Linked DNA regions of Homo sapiens: region 1 is linked to region 2. The links are contacts of gene promoters, found by promoter capture Hi-C in blood cells and fetal thymus (Javierre and others, 2016). All regions are on one chromosome and are shown on one strand. Each heading gives the region's core, a stretch centred on a gene start or on the middle of the fragment in contact. The rest is flanking DNA. Distances are from core to core; before and after follow the strand shown.

Evidence for each region. Contacts are between HindIII fragments. The CHiCAGO score rates a contact against its expected background, and 5 or more counts as called.
Region 1: a contact is called between a fragment that was not itself captured here and the fragment with the promoter of MKI67 in region 2, in 1 of 17 cell types (monocytes). The highest score is 6.8, in monocytes.

What each region holds. Positions count from the first base shown.
Region 1 is chr10:127,878,913-127,882,232 of GRCh38, reverse strand. The region is part of intron 2 of CLRN3 (clarin 3); the gene reads left to right. Among named protein-coding and RNA genes, the nearest start is that of CLRN3, 12 kb to the left of the region's middle. The HindIII fragment of the contact is 375 bases long and covers 1,648-2,022 here.
Region 2 is chr10:128,124,733-128,127,982 of GRCh38, reverse strand. MKI67 (marker of proliferation Ki-67) reads left to right here and starts at 1,560. Exons shown (of 15, transcript NM_002417.5): 1 at 1,560-1,884; 2 at 2,227-2,407. The coding sequence starts at 2,316. RefSeq lists an enhancer at 1,071-1,300 and a silencer at 1,411-1,780. The HindIII fragment of the contact is 8,920 bases long and covers 1-3,195 here.

The DNA of each region.
Region 1 (3,320 bases), core at 586-3,085, 250 kb after region 2:
TAAATCCCCCAATTTAATGGGCAGCCACTATGGACGAGGCACAAAAGTCCTGTAGAATGAATATCACTGTTTCCCTTTCTTATGGCAGAGCTGAGTGTCAGAGGTTAAGGGACTTTGTTACACAATCAGATATACTCACCTGAATGCCAGAGTCCCTTGCCTAAGCTACTTGTATGATGATGGTTCACCCCAGTCAATCAAACCAAGGTAAACCAATTGGTACTTATGGCCAGGGTAAAGAGATAGATTATTTTTACTTTTGCTCATGCAACTAAGAAAGTACGAGAAGCAGTGGCTTCAGACACAGCTCGAGTCAAGGTCTCGGCCTGTGTCGTGAGGACTGTTTCCTGCCATTGCTCCATCTATTGAAATCCTCAGCGTTGACTCCATCATTCATTAATTGGCCAGATCAATCCTCTTGAAGATAAGATGACTGCTGGCCACTCTGGGCTCATTGCTGATGGTGGCAGCCCCAGGAGAAAAAAATTTCTCATTTCCTCCAAATTCAGAGAAAGTCCTGGGCTACTTTGCACTGGCATTGCCCTTCTCCCATCCCTTGACCAATCTCTGTGGCTGGCAGGGTTGAATTCCCCAAGCCATCCACTAATGGGCCAAGGCTACCTGCCCATCCTGGAGCTGGGGCTGGAATCGGCCCTTCCCCAGCCGCAGGGGTGAGTGGGGAAGGAAGCCTGCATTCCTGGAGGGAAAACAGGCGCCAGGACCAGAGTAGAGGGCCAGGTGTGGCGCCGGCCGAACAACAGGGACCCAGCATTGCTGTGTCTACAGCCTGCAGGGTTCAAAGTCCACTGCCTTTGCCACTAGGCTGTGGCTCCATATCTCTGCTCCTCCGCAGCAGAGTATGGGCTGGCTTTGCATATAGCAGAGGCCTCATGCATGTTTGTGAAGGAAAACATGAGAAACAGGGACCTGAGAGCCTCCCCGTAGCCCTGCCTACTCCTATCCACAAAGAATTGTTGGACGGAGAGGGAATTCCTGCCACCTTCCTTTCCTGGCTCAGGAGCAAGTTCTAACACACAGAGGGAGGCTGTGAGGTGGGCAGAAAACAACCTGAGAGGTTGATGTGTAAGGAGCAGATTGCATTCTGATGCCTGCCTGGGAGAAGGCCTCAGCACAGCTTAGCTTCCTCTAAATGCCCCTTGAGGCCTCTTGACCCTAACAGTGTTGATAGGCCTGACTTTTGCCCAAAGTAGCCCTTTGGGGGTTCCTGATTTTCTCACAGGAGCTTTGAGGGTTGGAGAACTTACTGAAACTCTCAGTTTCCAGGAGGCTCAGCCTGCAGAAGGGCTTGTATACAGAGATGTCTTAATTCTTGCCTTGGGTCATGGCTGTGGGACAGCATGATCAGACTGACTTCTGGGAGTCCTGGGGCCAGAAGGAAGTGCTCCAAACTCCTAGCGGCTGGTTTTGAACTACCTCTGCTTGGCCAGCAGATGTTGGGTAGGGAAGGAAGTGGGTTTCCTGGCTTGTTTCTGACAGAAAGAAGCAGGTTCTGCTTTGAGGAGACAAACAGCAGTCTCACTTCCTAGGTTCCCGTGACCTCTGACCTCAGCCTACCTTCTACACCACACTGACCTGATGAGGCTGTATCCTGGCCTCAGGGGATAAAATTGTCCCCTGAGAGAAGCTTGGAGCCAGAGACAACTTTGCAGACTGCCTGTTCCAAATACATTTGTGTCTCATCTGAGGAACTCAGAGAGTGGAAAGTGATCAGGAGGTCACAGGGCCCGATGGTCACAGGCCAGGACAGAAGCCAGGGTCCGTGAGCCTTCCGAAGCTCCTCATCTACCCCGGGGCTTCCTCCAGCCCCTATAAATCCTTCTGTCCCAGAGGCTGGAGAAGCCTGGCAGGTAGAGGCTCTGGGCATCTCATCACTAAAGGGGACTCAGGTTTGCATTTTGTGTCTGTGTGTCGGCCCCTCCCCATTCAAATCAAAGTTCTAGGCAGCCCGCTCTGGAAAAAAGCATTTAGACTATATACATCCTGCCCCTTTATGATTAAGCTTTTATAAGAAACTTCACAAGAGGAAAATGAAAGATAATTAAGGCTGTGAGGCACCTGGAGAGCTTCAGAGGGTCAGGGCTTTTGTACGGACAAATTATTAAGAAATAAAACCATTACATTGAGGATGAAGATCTGTCATCAAGGAGTGTTTAAAACATTCTCCTCATACAAAACCCCTCTAATTAAGGCCTTTTGATGGACCGTTTGGAAAGTTTCCCTGGGTGTGGGTTATAGCAGGATACATTTGATGTCCACTGAGTTCCGGGTACATGGCGGCAGACGGAGTCTCAAAGGGCTTCCGTGGCCAGGATCCCCTGGCGGCCCCCGTGCGTATCAGACCTCACTGGGTGAGCCTGCTCACCGGCCTCATCACAGATCCTGGAACATAGGCATCCTTATCCTCCAAAACCTTTCTTTTAACAGCTTTATTGACACATGAGTCACACACCATACAATTCACCCATTAAAGTATACAATTCCATGGTTTTTTGTATGTTCTCAGACATGGGCAAGGCTTACCACTGCCAATTTTAGAATATTTTGATCACCTTGAAAAGAAACCCCATGCCCTTTAGCTATCACCCCCTCCCAGCCCACTTCCAGCACTAGGCAACCGCGAAAGCCCTAATCTACATTTTTTTTTTTGTCTCTATCTCATTCCCTTTGAAAGATGAGGAATGAGGCTCAGAAAGGCTACATGACTTGTTCAAGTTCATCTAGCTGGGATTTCCAATCCTGTTCTCTCTGACTCCAGAACTACGTTCTTTTAACTAGACAAAAGTGGCTCTCCCAAGTCTATACTGAAGAATGTTCTTTAGGGCTCGGCAGAGTAGCTCACACTCGGCACTTTTGGAGGCCGAGGCAGGTGGATCACTTGAGTCCAGGAGTTCGAGACTAGCCTGGGCAACATAGAAAAAGCCGGTCTCCATAAAAAATTAGTCAAGCATGGTGGCATATACCTGTAGTCTCAGCTAGTCAGGAGGCTGAGGTGGTAGGATCAATGGAGCCTGGGAGGTGGAGGTTCAGTAAGCTGAGATTGTACCACTGCACTTCAGAGCCCAGGGGAGAGTGAGACCCCATCTCAAAACAAACAAAAAAGAATGTTTTCTAGTGGAGGATATTGTGAAGAATAAAAAAGGGAAGACATAAACATGCAATAAGTTCTCTTCTCTAATGAGTTTTGTAAGGAGATTCCTCCTGATTAGACACTTGCCAGTGGCATCATATGCCATGAGATTCAAGCTCCTGGGATGGCATTTGTGGCTCTCAGGGCAGCCCAGTCTCCGTACCCAGTTCTT
Region 2 (3,250 bases), core at 311-2,810:
TAAGGCTAAGGAATTTAAAAATATTCATTTATTGATTCATTTTAAGATAGTGATGCACCTATTTCATGCTAACACCAATAACTTATTTTTATGGAAAAAAAACAACAAAATGAAAACAGCGCTTTAGTTCACATTTTTGCAAATCTCTGTAATACCTGGTTGAAACGGAGACAGTGGGAGTCTCCTCACTGCTTCTGCATTTGCAGAACCACACCCCACACTCTTGGGAGCATGAGAATGAGAAGGGCAAGTAACACAGAGGGTCATTAGATAAATGGTTTTGACCTTATGGACTCTCTGAAAGGAATAGGAAGTCCTCAGGGGTCCCCTGCATCGAGGCCTCCCTGATCAAGGGAGCCAAGCTCCAAGGGTTGCTGGGGAGCTGGAGGAGGTGAGATGGGGCAGAGAGGCCGTTGTCACCAAAAGCGTGTTTAGGCTCCATTCACTTCACCCCAGGTGGCCTACTGAGCCCACATGGCCACCAGCGCAACTGAAGCAGACCCCGATAGAATCCTGTGTAGAATTATTTTAGGATTCACCCATCTTGGCATGCACAAGCCATTTCAATTGAAGAATGTTTTCTAATAACAAAACATTGTAAACCTAAGTATGTGGCAATAGTAATGATTAAGTAAATTATGGTTTCCCGAAGCCCAGTGCTCTGCAGCCATCAGAGAGTAAAAGCGAGAATGTGTTCAGTGGAGATAGCCTCAGGATATTTAAAAGCAGAGAGCACAAAGTATAGAATCGTGTTGTGTATGTTATGACCTTTTTTTCTGTGCTTTTGAAAAAGAGAATACACGTATAGCAGGAAAAGACACACCAAACTACTTTATATAATTGGTTGTTTTTGTGTTTGGTAAGATGTATGCACTGAAGAGGAAGGTTTCGATTTTTTTTTTTTTTTTTTTTTTTTTTTTGAGACAGGGCTTTGCTCTGTCGCCCAGGCTGGAGTGCAGTGGCGCGATCTCAGCTCACTGCAGCCTCGACCGCCCCGGCTCAAGCGATCCTCCCACCTCAGCTGTCCCAGTAGCTAGAACTACAGGGGCGCCACCACGCCTGGCGAATTTTTTGTAGAGATGGGTTCTCTCCAGGTGGCCCAGGCTGGTTCTGAACTCCCGGGCTCAAGGGATCTTCCTGCTTCAGCTTCCCAAAGTGCGGGGATTACCGGCGTGAGCCACCGCGTCCCGCCTGTTTTTAATTTTTAGCAGTTTTAAATCTTCTGGCAATGAGTAATGTTATAGTGTCCCAGATGTTTGGTCCTTTAAGAAAAGGATAGCAGGACGGGTTATCTCGGTGGGAGCGTGTTCCACCTCTGCCCTCCGCCAGCCGCCCTCGCCGGGGATGCACCCAGGTATTTTCCTCCGGATGCGTGAGTGGCTCGCCCGCGGACACGCCAGCCCCGCCCCGCGAGCCCGGTTTCCCCGCCCCCTCCCCGCCCACGCCCTGCGCTCCCTTCCTATTGGTCCCATGCCGCGCTTTCCCGTTCAATCGCAGCGCTTAGCGCCAGAATTTGAATCTTCGTTTTCGTTTGAATTGGGCGGGCGCGCCGGGCTGGAAGAAGGAAGTGGAGGGCTGACGCTGCGGGCGGGCGGGCGGGCGGGAGGACTCGACTCGGTGGGAGCCGCTAGAGCCGGGCGCCCGGGGACGTAGCCTGTAGGGCCACCGGGTCCCCGTCAGAGGCGGCGGCGGGAGCAGCGGGGACTGCAGGCCGGGGTGCAGCGAACGCGACCCCGCGGGCTGCGGCCCGGTGTGTGCGGAGCGTGGCGGGCGCAGCTTACCGGGCGGAGGTGAGCGCGGCGCCGGCTCCTCCTGCGGCGGACTTTGGGTGCGACTTGACGAGCGGTGGTTCGACAAGTGGCCTTGCGGGCCGGATCGTCCCAGGTGAGCTGCGGCCGGGACTCCTGGGAGCTGTCCGGGGTCGAGGGCTGAGCCGCGGGGACCCCCCGAGCTCTGCGGGGACGGGCAGGGGACAGACGCGCGGCCTGGGCCCGACTCCTCCTGGGCTCTGGCGAGGGCGTCTCGGTGGAAGCTCCCAGGAGGCGCAGGCGCTGGCGACAACACCCCAGCTGCCGGACTTTGGGGCGCCGGGGGCTGCGGTCGGATCGTCCTGGGGTCCCCGCTAGCTAGCTGCGGTGTGCGCTTCTGTGGCCGGGGATAGGTGAATTGGGCACGGGGCCCTTCTTAGCTCCTTTGCTATCAGAGTAACTCGCACCTCTTTTGCAGTGGAAGAGTTGTAAATTTGCTTCTGGCCTTCCCCTACGGATTATACCTGGCCTTCCCCTACGGATTATACTCAACTTACTGTTTAGAAAATGTGGCCCACGAGACGCCTGGTTACTATCAAAAGGAGCGGGGTCGACGGTCCCCACTTTCCCCTGAGCCTCAGCACCTGCTTGTTTGGAAGGTGAGCCCCGCGGGCGCGCGCGGACGTTTTAGCTGAGAAAGAGGAAAATACCTTAGTCACAGAATAAAGTCCAGAAACGCGCTCTAGGATTGGGTCCTGCCGTCACTTTTCCTTGGTGCTTCTCCCATTCGTTACTAAGTTGACATAGTTGTGTTTTTTTGTTTTGTAAGTATAAATTTGATGCTAGTTTGTATGTTTAAGTGGTTTTAAAAATCAAGCCAATTAAAAAAATCGATTTGCTAATGTTGCGGTAAAGAAAGATGTAGATGATCTTCATATGTCACTGGCTGCAGGCAGGCGTCTGAAGACACTGTGCGCCCCCGGGTGCCTCCACAGTGGGCATCCCTGGCCACTGGGGACACAGAGAATGAAGGAAGGAAGCCATACACTTGTCTCTTGGCTCCTTGTGGCAATAGGAAAATGGGACAGAAAGTCTTCCTGCCTGGAATTCGAGAACGTTTCCTCTTATATTGCTGTCCTGTTTGGTGGTGGTAATAACCCTGTCCCTGTATAACAGGTATAGTTGCTGACAGTGCCCCATCAGCCTCTGACATGTGTCCCACTAGAGGCCTGAGAAGGGGGGTCATTTCCCGTGTGGTCATTTCCCAGACCACACGGGATTCAGGCCTCACCCTGTCCTCCCAACCCCATCCCGGCCTCACCCTGTCCTCCCAACCCCATCCCCTACCTTGTTCCTCCCGCCTAAGGCATTCCAAGCCTTTGTTCACCTTGGTACTTCTTACACACTTGGAAGTTTACAATGGGAAAGTTCTCCCCTTCCTCAAGCTTGTGTGATTTCCATCATTCAGGCATCAGGTGAAATGTCACCTCTGAGGAAGCCTT